Linked DNA regions of Homo sapiens: region 2 is linked to region 1. Evidence: promoter capture Hi-C in human tissues and cell types (Jung and others, 2019). All regions are on one chromosome and are shown on one strand. The core of a region is centred on a gene start or on the middle of the fragment in contact, and the rest is flanking DNA. Distances in the headings are between cores, read along the strand shown.

Region 1 (6,243 bases), core at 2,876-5,375:
TACAATGTGCTGTGGCATAAATCCATCTTTACTAGGCACCTACTCTGGGCCACTAATTGTGCCAAGCCTACGGGAGGCGATGCATCCCTGCGCTGGACACAGACAAATAAAATGCACTAGGGGACACAGACAAATAAAAGGACAGTTAGGGCCAGGTACGGTGGGTCACGCCGGTAATCCCAGCATTTTGGGAGGCCGAGGCGGGCAGATGACCTGAGGTCAGGAGTTTGAGACCAGCCTGACCAACATGGAGAAACCCCGTCTCTACTAAGAATACAAAATTAGCCGGGCGTGGGGGACGGGTGCTTGTAGTCCCAGCTACTCCTGAGGCTGAGGCAGGGGAATCGCTTGAACCCGGGAGGTGGAGGCTGCAGTTAGCCGAGATCGCGCCACCGCTCTCCAGCCTGCGAGCCTGGGCCACAGAGAGAAACTCCACCTCAAAAAGATAAATAGAAAGCAGCATTTAAGAAATATCTGAGCTCCTATGATTTTTTTCCTCCAAAACTGCCTCTTCTTTTCATTAAGTATCTTCTCATTAAATACCACTATTCATCCATCTTATTAAGTGCAGGCCCCATTCTAGGTGCCAAGAACACAATGCACATCAAAGGGAGCCGGGGGTCCCTGTTCTAATAGAGCTCACTCTTGTGGTGGAGTGGGGGGTGTGATGAACCAAACTGTGAGTGTTCTTTGCATCCCTGCTACTACTGGTGGTCTAAGCTTCCTGACCCCTCATGTGGATGACAACACATTAAGTGTTTTTCCTAACTTTCTTGCCAGCCCTCCAGAAAAACCTGCCAGAGAAATTAGATCACAAGTCAGATGAGATCCATCTGTTACTCAAAACCCTTCTGCGACCCTCCATTGCACTTGGACTCAAACCCAAACTCCTCTCTATGGCTGACAAGGCCTTGCAGGATCTGCCCGCCCCCAGCCCTAGACATCACCTCTTCCCCATCTTCACACAGTCCTCTAGGCTTGAAATATTCCCCTACCTGATCACTTGACTGGTTCATCTCAGGTCTCACTCACGTCATTTAAACAGGACCTCTCGGCTGGGCACAGCGGCTGACACCTGTAATCTCAGCACTTTGGGAGGCCAAGGTGGGCGGATCACTTGAGCCCAGTTCAAGACCAGCCTGGGCAACATAGCAAAACCCTGTCTCTACAAAAAAGTACAAAAAATTAGCCAGGTGTGGCGGTGCATGCCTGTAGTCCTCAGCTACTTTGGAGGCTGAGTAGGATCACCTGGGCCCAGGAGTTGGCGGCTGCAGTGAGCCATGATTGTGCAACTGCACTCCAGCCTGGATGAGAGAGACCTTGTCTCAAAAACAAAAAAGAAAAGGCCGGGCACTGTGGCTCATGGCTGTAATCCCAGTACTTTGGGAGGCCGAGGTGGGCGATCACGAGGTCAAGAGATCGAGACCATCCTGGCCAACATGGGGAAACCCCATGTCTACTAAAAATACAAAAATTAGCTGGGCGTGGTGGCACATGCCTGTAGTCCCAGCTACTCAGGGGGCTGAGGCAGGAGAATGGCGTGAACCCGGGAGGCTGAGGTTGCAGTGAGCTCGGATTGTGCCACTGCACTCCAGCCTGGCGACAGTGCGAGACTCTGTCTCAATAAAATAAAATAAAGAAAAAAGAAAAACAAAAAAAGAGGCCCTCTCTGGGATGCTATTGTATCTGTCCACATCCTCCCCCTTTCTAAACTGCTGGAAGGCAGAAACCATGTCTTTAACACCACAGAGACAAAAATAGCCAAGATTCACACACTCACTGTAAGCCAGATGTTGATTTACATCCTTTAACCCTCACAGCAGCCCTGGAGATGGCAGAGATTAAATTAGTAGTTAGTTCAAAGGCCAGCCACCCAGTAAATGGAGTAGGAAGAAAAAGAAGGTCCAAACTCAGGCAGTCAAAGTCCACAGCCCAAGGGCTTTACCCTGTTGGATGCTATTTCTCAAGAACTGGCAGGTCCAGAAACTTTAGCTGAATGAGTAAGTGGGGTTCAGAAGTGCTGGGAGGCTCAGTTGCCAGAAGAGAACCCTGAATCAGCCCCAGAGGTAACCCAACTTTTGGGAACACTGAAACCTCACTATATCCAATCACAGATGTGATTAGGTTACCAAGTCCGGCCAGGCAGTCACAGAGGTACAAACGAGGCCATGCTCCCAACATAATATTTACTTCTAAAACCAAGGCAGACCAGATTCCTGCCCTGGACTCTAAGGCCACAGCTGGTACCAAGTTCAGGGAACGGCCAGGTTCACCTTCTATACAAACCTCTTCCCCCACCCATCCCTTCTATTGCTGCCTCCATAACAAACCTCTCACCACAGTGATTCCTGCTACCTTCTCTGTTTAGAAGATGAAAAAGAATGACCTGGGGGGACTGATCAAGTTACTTAGGATAGGGAATAACCCCAATTTTACATCTGAAGCCCCCCAGGATCTGTAGCTGTTTCTTCACAGGAAATTTCTCTTGTAGTTTACCATTTCTTCCCCCCATACCAAAGGCTTCTGCCTTTTCTGCCTCACTGTTCTCCTAGGGGACATACCACCAACCCGAGAAGCACACCTCTCCCTGAGGCCTTGCAAGTAAAGATGAAACAATGCGATGACTGAACTAAGTGGCTTTTTTATTAGAGAAAGCCAGAATTACAAAAGACTTAAGAGTTGGCATTGGGGCCCTTCTTCTTGCCAAAGGTGGGCACAACGTTGACAAAGCGCCGGTTGTACTGCATCCGCCGCTTAGCCCGACCTGTCTTCTTCTTCTTCTTCTCCTGTTTGGCCACCTGGAGAAGGGAAGGTTAATCAGGCCCTGGTTCCTGTCTTCCACACCTAGCATCCCTTCCCTCAGGCTCATCTCCAGGGAGGGAGAAGGCAAACCGAGTAAGAGCCCAGGGACTTGGTTTAGCTGTGAAAGGAAAAAAAGTCCTAACACCATGACCACTAATACTCTCACTCACCTTAGGAGTCTGACCTCTCACTTTTCCAGCACGGGCCAGGGAACCATGGACTTTACCTGTAGTGGGAAAGGAAGGCACCAGCAGGTAAGAGCAAGAAGGTGCCACCCAGCAGAACCCCTCTTTTCTCAATTCAAGCCTTTAAAGAGAAGCTGCGCCCAATAGGTAATGAGAACAAAGTTGCAGATATTTGACCTTGAAATCTTAAGTTTCATTTCAGGATCTTCCAGCTTCTAATTTTATAGAGCACTTTGGGGGCCCTGGTCTGACCTAATTTTAGTGTGGAAGCTGATAACCAGACTAGGATCTCGTGATGTGACTGAAATACAACTACACTCTGGCTCAGTCTCCCATGGACGTCTGTGTTCAACATGAGGGATGTAAACAGGAAGAATCACTCTGAACTGAAGACAGTGAGAAGTACTCTATTACCATAGGTGTGACACTCAGCTGTCAGGACTATGCACCCCACACTCACTAGACGCTTACCGGTACTTCAAAGAACATTCCTCTCTCACTCACCTCCAAGCATGCGGCCTGCTACTTCCAGGGTAGTCAGGGCCTCCACCCCGCACTGGCCCAGAGTGGCCTCATCCTCCAGGGGCGCGCCTGCCAGGAGCACGACTTGATCTTCCGGGGCAATGCCCTCCAGTGAGGCTACATGAGCCTACAGGGAAAGATAAGGCTCGTAAGCGTTCCCTCGGGCCGCGAGAGTGAAGAGCACAAGAAAATGGAACCCAGGGCGCACCAAGCAGCCTTACCTTGATCTGGGCGACCGTTTCCTGGCCGGTCACCTCGAAGGTGTGTAGCTCCTGGGCGCGGACAAAGAGCTGCATATTGGCGACTGAGTAAAGAAAAGACGGCTTGTAAGAGAAGCCAAGAAATGCTCTGGGATAAAGGAGATTTGGGAGTGGAAAGCGGTCCAGAAACGATCGCGACGGGATGGTGGTCGCGGCGGCTCACGTGGGGAAGGCCAGGCCTCCCAAGGAGTTCGGATAGGGACTGGAGCAGGGCCACGGAGCAGGCCCCGTTCTTCGGTTCCCCCCGCGCCTTCTGACCCCGCAGCCAACCTGCTACAAGCCCTTCGGATCCAGCCAAGGCCCCATTCTTACCTGAACGGCGGTCCCAGCTACCGCGAAGATGGAGTCGAGAAAGAGGAAGAAGCGAGGGCGCGTCAGTACAGACCGTGGGCTGCGTGTCACGTCACTGCTGAGCGACCGCGCGGTTCCCTGCTATTTGTACCGCCCAAGGCAGTCCTAGCTCCGCCCCTTTACGCTCGCACCGGCGAACCTGCCTGGGCAGGCAGCTCGCGCAGGACGGGGCGGGACCAGACAGTTGCGCGCACAGAAGGCTGGCGTAGCAGGTAAAGATGGCAGCTACCATGTTCCGGGCTACGCTGCGGGGATGGAGAACCGGTGTCCAGCGGGGCTGCGGGCTACGGCTGTTGGTGAGAGCGCTGAGCGAGGAGCTGAGGGCATCGCGTGGGTGTGAGGCTCAGTGTTAATCATTGTTAACCCCGAAAACTAAGGCATTCCTACTTGGGGCCTTAGTTTTGCCGTTTTCGATCAGGAGAACTTGTCCCGAGTGTACATATAGAATCGAGAGGGAAAATGGTAGACTGGGGTGCTCTTTGGGAGCACTTAACACAGTGCCTGGCAGTGTCTATATAAGCCACAACGTTTCAGGTAAGGGGCGGGGTCCTAGCATATGAGTGTGCGTGGGGAATTATGATTGCCTTAATTCTTTTTTTTTTTTTTTTTGAGACGGAGTCTCGCTCTGTCGCCCAGGCTGGAGGGCAGTGGCGCGATCTCGGCCCACTGCAAGCTCCGCCTCCCAGATTCACGCCATCCTCCTGCCTCAGCCTCCCGAGTAGCTGGGACTACAGGCTCCCGCCACCATGCCCGGCTAATTTTTTGTATTTTTAGTAGAGACGGGGTTTCACCTTGTTAGCCAGGATGGACTGGATCTTCTGACCTCGTGATCCGCCCGCCTCGGCCTCCCAAAGTGCTGGGATTACAGGCATGAGCCGCCGAACCCGTCTGATTGCCTTAATTCTTAAGGCAATCATAAGATTAAACATCACTATATCCCGTCACAGATGTGATTAGGTTAGCAAGGCCAGCCAGGCAATCATGGAGGTACAAACAAGGCCACGCTGCCAATATAATAATATCTATTTCTAAAACCGAGACAGAAAGTTAAGCCTTAAGTTTCTAAAGGCTTGATTGACTTTTCAGAAGTGTACATATACTCTTTTGCATCCCACAGAAATCCTGAGAGGCAGACCATTCAGAGTACCTGAGCCTCCTTTCCATCCCATCTGTACCCTGCACCATGGAAAACCAAAGACTGGTGCTATCTTATGTCAACCTAAATAACAGACTCTAAAAGAAAAGGATATTTATTCGGGAATGGGTATAGACTATGTGCTTATCAGGGAGGTAAAAGAAGACAAAGGTTTTTAACAGAAAAATGGGCCAGGCACGGTGGCTCACGCCTGTAATCCCAGCACTTTGGGAGGCCAAGGCGCGTAGATCACCTGGAGTCAGGAGTTTGAGACAAGCCTGGCCAACATGGTGAAACCCGTCTCTAGAAAAAATACAAAAATTAGCCGGGTGTGATGGCGTGTGCCTGTAGTCCCAGCTACTTGGGAGGCTGAGGTAGGAGACTTGCTTGAACTTGGGAGGCGGAGGTTGCAGTGAGCCGAGATCACACCACTGCACTCCAGCCTAGGTGACAGAGTGAGACTCTATCTAAAAAAATAATAAAAATAAATAAAGGAAAGGAAAAATGAGTATTACATAATTGTTTTGAGACAGTTATCCTTGGCTACAAGGATGAATAACATGGGTGGTGCCAGTTCAAGATTGGACAGGCAGTTGTTGGACAGATGGCCATGCAGGAATTTGTTTTGTTTTGTTTTGTTTGAGAGAGTCTCGTCGCTCTGTCACCGAGGCTGGAGTGCAATGGTGCGATCTTAGCTCACTGCAACCTCCACCTCCTGGGTTCAAGCAATTCTCCTGCCTCAGCCTCCCAAGTAGCTGGGATTACAGGCATGCACCACCATGCCCGGCTAATTTTTGTATTTTCAGTAGAGATGGGGTTTCGCCATGTTGGCCAGGCTGGTGTTGAACTCCTGACCTTAGATGATCCTCCTGCCTCAGCCTCCAAGGTGCTGGGATTACAGGCGTGAGCCACCTTGCCCAGCCAGAAATATTTTTTTGTGTAAGGTTGAAGTGGCCTTTGTGCAAGGCTGTGGTTTTTGCAGTCTTTT
Region 2 (6,243 bases), core at 2,351-4,850, 260 kb after region 1:
TCTCCTTGGGGAGTGGGCTCCCCACAGCTCTGAGGCTGGCAGACCCCTCTGGAGGGGGGCAAGCCCCGTCAGCTGGAGCGAGTGGCCCAGGCTGCTTCTCCCAGCACCCTCTTGGCACTGCCCACCAGCTGTCTCTGCCTTTTGCCCCCTCTGTTCCCCACAGCCCTCCCCCAGAGGCCTGCAGCCTGGAAGGCCATAGCACAGGCCTCTTGTTCCCCTCCAAGAGGCCTATGCCTCCACAGCTGTGGGTCGCCAGGGCAGGGTGGGAGAGGACAGATCGAGATGACCATCCCTATGACACCTGTGTGTGCCCACTCACTGCCCCCTCACCTGCAGGAACCCCCCGGTGCAGCCCGCTAGGAAGATGTGCATGTAGCTGGGCGGCTGGGCCCGCCGCTCCTGGTGGGAGGTGGCCGTGAGCACCAGCAGGGTGTTGCTATAGACCCCAAACAGGACAGAGTTGACCACAGCTATGCTGGCAATGGGGAAGCTCATTCCCTTGAAGAAGCCCAGGAGCTGCAGAGAGACACAGTGGCAGCGGAGTAGGCACCGTGGGGCCTCCCCTTTGTCCTCTCCACCCCTGGCAAGGCAGCCTCTGGCTGGAAACTGCTCCCAAGTCCTGCCACAGGGAAGTGGGGACAGGCAGGGATGGGCTGAGGCTGCGCCTCTGGGGTGCTAAGCTACCACCCAGGCCCCCCAAGGATCCCAGACTTGGTCTTCTCTCCTCCAGGAGCAGAACCCTGCTGGAGAGGGAAGCTGGTACCAACAGCCCCAGATGCCTCCCCGAAAGGGGAAGGACCCCAAAGGAGTGGGCCACTCACGGACTCATGGCGGTAAATCTTGACCATGCAATCAACGATGCCCCGGTAGGTGGTCTGGGTCTGCAGCCTCACCTGGGTGGGAGGACAGAGCAGGTAGGGTGGCGGGATGGGCAGGTGGGCCAACCTTTCCCTCTGCCCCCTCAAGCGGGATGCCAACCAGCAGGAGAGGCAGGAAAGGCAAGATTAGCCAGGCCTGATCTCAGGGCACCCTGACATTTGGGTCAGGTGAGATCTTTCATTCCTCTGGCAGCTCTCCTAAACTCACCTTTACAGTGTCAAACGGGTGTCCCAGGACCAAGCCCAGAGCGCCTGTGGTGACAAGAGGGTGCTATGAGTGAGGGCCCTCGTGCCAGGCCCAGGAAGCAAGTCTGTGCCAAGAGGAAAGAGGGGTTCAGGCAGGAGGAAGGAGAGCAGGGCCATCTCAGACACATGCAGCCACCTTCCTGCCAAGCTCTAGAGACTCCAGCTGCCCCTGCCACCCCCTCCACACAGGCACTGGGCCAGGAAGGCACTGGGACAAGGGACTAAGACCCCAGGCCCCACCTGAGGATGCACACCCAAGAGGGAAGAGCCAGCCAAAGACGTACGTGTCCTCGCTGGAGCCCATACCCGGGTATCCCACCGCCTATGAGCCGCGGGACTCTGGGAGAATCACCCAGGTTCCCACCTCTCCGAGAGCTTTACTCTTCTTTCTTCAACTCATAATGTCGTCGCCGGGATCCAGAGCAGGCCCTGCTGCCAGCTGGCCACGCAGAACTGCAGGGCCCTGATGGGGGTCATGCCTGGGCACCTGCAGAGGAGCTTCTCCCCTCCCCTCCACCTGCCCACTGCCTAGCCCTGCCCTCCACAGCAGAGGCTGGTTCTGGAGTTTGGGGGAGGTCGCACCCCCAGGAGGCAGGTTCAGAACGTCCCTCTCTTTCTCCTAAGAGGAATGCCACCCAGAAGCTGGGCTGGGACCACAGCACAACAGGCCTCAGGGCCCGGGACTGCGGCCCACAGCCAGGTGGGGCAGAGGCCCAGAGGGGACTCAGGACAGCAGGTGAGGTCAAAGGTGAACTTCCTTTGTAAGCCCAACAGGGTGGGCCTGGAGAGCAGGGCTCAAGGTATAGGGTGCTCACCTGGCTCTCCCGCCCTCTGCAGGTGTCAGGCAGAGTGGCCTTGGAAGGCAGAGGCAGCACCCTCCCACCTGTGCCTTCCTCTCTTCTTCCCATCGGCCACTCCCCAGAGGACTGGGGACAGCTGGCTCTGGGGTGCTCCACGGAACCCAGACTTTTTTTTTTTGACACAGGGTCTTGCTGGTGTTGTCCAGGCTGGAGTGCAGTGGCATGATCATGGCTCATTGCAGCTTCAACCTCCTGAGCTTAAGGGCTCCTTCCACCTCAGCCTCTGGAGTAGTTGGGACCACAGGCGTGCGCCACCGCGCCTGGCTAATTTTTGTATTTTTAGTAGAGACGGGGTTTCACCATGTTGGCCAGCCTGGTCTCGAAATCTTGACCTCATGATCCACCTACCTCAGCCTCCCAAAGTGCTGGGCTTACAGGCATGAGCCACCGCGCCCAGCCTCTCATTTCTTATAAAGACAGGGTCTTCCTATGTTGCCCAGGCTGGTCTCAAACTCCTGGCCCCAAGTGATCCTCCTACCTCAGCCTCGCAAAGTGCTGGGATTACAGGTGTGAGCCACCATGCCCTGATTCTTTTTTTTTTTTTTTTTTTTTTTTTGTGGCAGGGTCTCATTCTGTCACCCAGGCTGGAGTGCAGTGGTGCAGTCATAGCTCACTGCAGCCTTGAACTCCTGAGCTCAAGCAATCCTCCTAAGTAGCTGGGACTACAGGTGTGAGCCACCATGCCCAGCTAATTATTTTGATTTTTTTGTAGAGACAGGGGCCTCCCTATGTTGCCCAGACTGGTCTCAAACTCCTGGGCTCAAGTGATCCTCCCGCCAGGCCGGAACTCAGACTTTGGTCTCTGCTCCTCCCATGTCACCCATCTTCCCGAGGAAGTGACCTACCATTGGGTGTGATGTGACAGAAGGAAGAAAAATGTCTCACCAGAGATCCAGCCAGCCACAAATTCCTCCACCGGCATTGTCTGGGCTTGCGGGAACTGGTGGCTCCAGCAGAGGAGACAGAGTTGAATTCCCCCCTCTCCCTCCCCTGGCCCACGCTGATAACCTCCCACTAATGTTTAACCCTGGCGGGAAGGTGAGAATTGGCCTGGTGCCCAGACCTCCGGCAACTGGCAGAGGAGAGCGAGCCAGTTCCGGTGACCCTGGCCACCTGGAGGAGTCGTGCAGAGTACAGTCTCACGGGCCAGGCGTGCCGGGACCACAGAGGCCCTGATCCCCGAGCCCGGCCAATGATCCTCGCTCTGAGGATGGCAACTGGGTTCCTGCCCCATGGTCGGGCCCCTCCAGGGCTGCCTTAGTCAGCAAGAGGCAAGCCCCTGCCTGCCCAGCCAGCCCAGCTCCACTCCCATTCATCTCCACCAAGGGGCATGGCCGCCCCCATGCCACAGAGAGAGGCCGGGTGCGGAGGTAGCGTGGCCACCAGGGGGTAGGCCCAGCCCGCATTTGCCGCTGCGTGGCAGGGTGGGGAGGAGCCACTCCCAGGAGTGACTCACCAGGCCTGGCTGTTCTCTTCAGGGTTGTTTACGACTCCCCCGACTCCCCCGTGTGAGTCAGAAACACAGCCTTCCTCGGCTTCCTCCTTCCCAGGGGAAAGATAGGGGTTTTGATTATTTAAAGTGCGTGTTGATCTGCAATGGCACCATTCTGCTCAGTCAAAACCAAAACCCTTTCAAGGATCTGTGAGCCACAGGGTGCCGCCCATTCTCCTCTGACCTCACGTCCTGCCACCCACCCCCTTGCTTTCTCTGCTGCAGCCACCCGAGCCTCCAGACTCTTCTTCAGTCAGCCTTCTGTCTCCAGGCCTGTGGACTGGCTCTTCCCTCTTCCTGGGCACTCTTGCCCTGGCACCCCTCCAGCTGGGGCTCAAATGTCACCACCTGGGTGAGGTCTGCCCCGCCTCCCCAGCCGGAGGCACTGCTGGCTCTTCCTCTCTTTCTCCATCACAGTTATCACGCCAACATACGATGGGAAGAACTTGTCTGTCTGGACAGGGATCTCTGGGTGTTCTGTGCACAGCGGGTGGCACAGGGTGGGCTCTCAATAAATCCTGAGTGACTGAATGAACGGAAATGTCAGCCAGCAGCATCAGCGGCAGCCTGGGGCTCCAGTTCCCTCTTCCCATCACCAAACGGCCCTGGGAAACATCAAGGCCCAGTGACACCTGCACCCTCCCCTCCAGATCTCCCCGCAGCTCCTAGTCTCCCATGGGGGACGCCCAAGGCCCAGTCCTTCTCTCCCTTCTCCTCTCACTGTGGCCAAGGCAGAACCCACCCACCCCTGCTGCTTTCTCCCGGGTGGACAGATTCGGGAAACAGGACCTCCTACCTCCTGCCTCTGGAGCTGCCTGGGGCTCCTTGGGCCACCCCCAAAGATCATCCTAAAAGACCATCCCCAAAGACTGGCCTCTCGTGGTGGCTTGGGCTGCAGTCCTGGTTCTGCTTCTTATTCCTGAAACTGCCTTTGCAAAAACTATAACTGATACAGGCCAGGCGCAGTGGCTCACGCCTGTAATCCCAGCACTTTGGGAGGCCGAGGCGGAAGGACCACCTGAGGTCAGGAGTTCGAGACCAGCCTGACCAACATAGTGAAACCCCATCTCTACCAAAAATACAAAAATTAGCCGGGTGTGATGACGGGCGCCTGTAGTCCCAGCTACTTGGGATGCTGAGGCAGGAGAATCGCTTGAACCCGAGAGGCAGCTGTTGCAGTGAGCCAAGATCATGCCACTATACTCCAGCCTGGGCAACAGAGCGAGACTCCGTCTCAAAAAAAAAAAACAAACAAACAAACAAAAAAAAAACCCTCCTGTCTCTCGTACAGCCAGCTCTGCATGAATTAAACTCTCCTTATTGCAATTCCCCTGTCTTGACAAATTGGCTCTGTCTAGGCAGAGGGTAAGGTGAACCCAATGGGCGGTTACATTATCTCTCTCAGTGATGTTGAGCAACCTCTTCTGTGGGCCTTGGGGTCTATTATTGTTTGCCAAAGTAGGACAGCAGTCGGGCTAATTGATGTCTAAGCCTCTCAGCTCTAAAGGCTGGAGGCCGCCTCCTCCCTCACTTCAGAATGGGTCTCATTCTCTTTTCCAATCTCACCGCCTCACCCCAGTTTGAGAAAGACCCTCATTCCCACTTCCCTACAGCCTTGCTGAAGGGAAGCCCACCTAAGCATGGCGTCATCTTGTGAATCTCTAGCTCACAACCTCCAAAATGTTCTTACTGTCTAACACGCCTGCCCCATATCTGTCATCCTGGGGTTCAAGGCCTCCCCCATGGTGCCACCCACCTGCTATGCTCTCACACAGCGGGGGTCTTTCCTGGGGTCCTAACCATGCTCGTGCAGTTCCCACTACCTGGAATGCCTTTCCTTCCCCACCATCAGCCTCCCGGACTCTCTCCCAGTGCCCCTCCTTGACTAGACCCGGGTTCTAGCCTCCCCACCACCACCGCAGACACTCCCAGGTGTCAGTCTTTGACATAAAACAGAGATGTGATACTCACCTCTTAGTGAGTTCTAAGGATTAAAGCACTTTAAAAAGTGGCTGGCACGTAAATGGCAACTGCTAATACTTATTTCCACTCTCAGGACGCATGAGAATGACACAGGAAACAGGGGAAAGGGCCTGGCCCAGTGCCCCACACACAGCAAGTGAGCAGAGACTTTTCCTGCCTGTAGCATTTCATAGTTCTTAAGGCAATGCTGTCATCTTCTGTGGTTTTATTTATTTTTTTGGAGACAGAGTCTCACTGTTGTCCAGGCTGGAATACAGTGGCAGGATGGCGCTATCAGAGCTCACTGTGAGCTCACACTCCTGGGCTCCAGCGATCCTCCCACCTCAGGCTCCTGAATGGCTAGGACCACAGATGTGTGCCACCACACCTGGCTAATTTTTGGGTTTTTTACAGATGGCGTCTCACTATGTTCCCCAGGCTGGTCTTGAACTCCTGGCCTCAGGCGATCCTCCTGCCTCGGCCTCCCAAAGTGCTGTGGTTTTAAATGTGCTGTTCTCCTGGGCTTCTTTCTCTTTCCCCTCTTCCTTAACTCACCAATTAAACCACAACAGACACTTTCTGAGGGCAGGGCCACGTCTCCCCTCAGTCTCCATCCCCTGACCTAGCACAAGCCCCGCATCCAGTAAGCATTCAAAACAACACTGAACTCTTCTGCTCCTGCTTCACTCCAGCTGGGTCAAGAGGCCATGGAGATACAGTGTGTCCTGGTCTGAGGGTCCCAGAGCTGAGAACCAGGAAGGAGATGCCTGCCCCCACTGGACACCCTTCCCTGCAGCCCACATCT

What was found. The method cuts DNA at HindIII sites, captures the fragments that hold promoters and counts their contacts. A contact is called where the count stands out against the background at its distance.
Region 2: a contact is called between the fragment with the promoter of SLC25A45 here and the fragment with the promoter of FAU in region 1, in 1 of the 25 tissues and cell types used here (dorsolateral prefrontal cortex).

Annotation. Positions count from the first base shown.
Region 1 is chr11:65,118,009-65,124,251 of GRCh38, forward strand. It overlaps FAU (FAU ubiquitin like and ribosomal protein S30 fusion), which reads right to left and starts at 4,126. Exons shown (of 5, transcript NM_001997.5): 1 at 4,082-4,126; 2 at 3,731-3,813; 3 at 3,492-3,636; 4 at 2,973-3,028; 5 at 2,622-2,798. The coding sequence starts at 3,805. The coding sequence ends at 2,673. MRPL49 (mitochondrial ribosomal protein L49) reads left to right here and starts at 4,313. Exons shown (of 4, transcript NM_004927.4): 1 at 4,313-4,416. The coding sequence starts at 4,339. RefSeq lists enhancers at 4,084-4,173, 4,334-4,603. The HindIII fragment of the contact is 8,684 bases long and covers 3,698-6,243 here.
Region 2 is chr11:65,379,046-65,385,288 of GRCh38, forward strand. SLC25A45 (solute carrier family 25 member 45) reads right to left here and starts at 3,601. Exons shown (of 7, transcript NM_182556.4): 1 at 3,441-3,601; 2 at 2,870-2,924; 3 at 1,087-1,130; 4 at 822-893; 5 at 331-516. The coding sequence starts at 2,906. It also overlaps a transcript of FRMD8 not described here. RefSeq lists enhancers at 2,710-3,238, 2,787-2,916, 2,904-4,103, 3,047-3,326, 3,239-3,766 and 4 more and a silencer at 4,733-5,027. The HindIII fragment of the contact is 21,887 bases long and covers 1-6,243 here.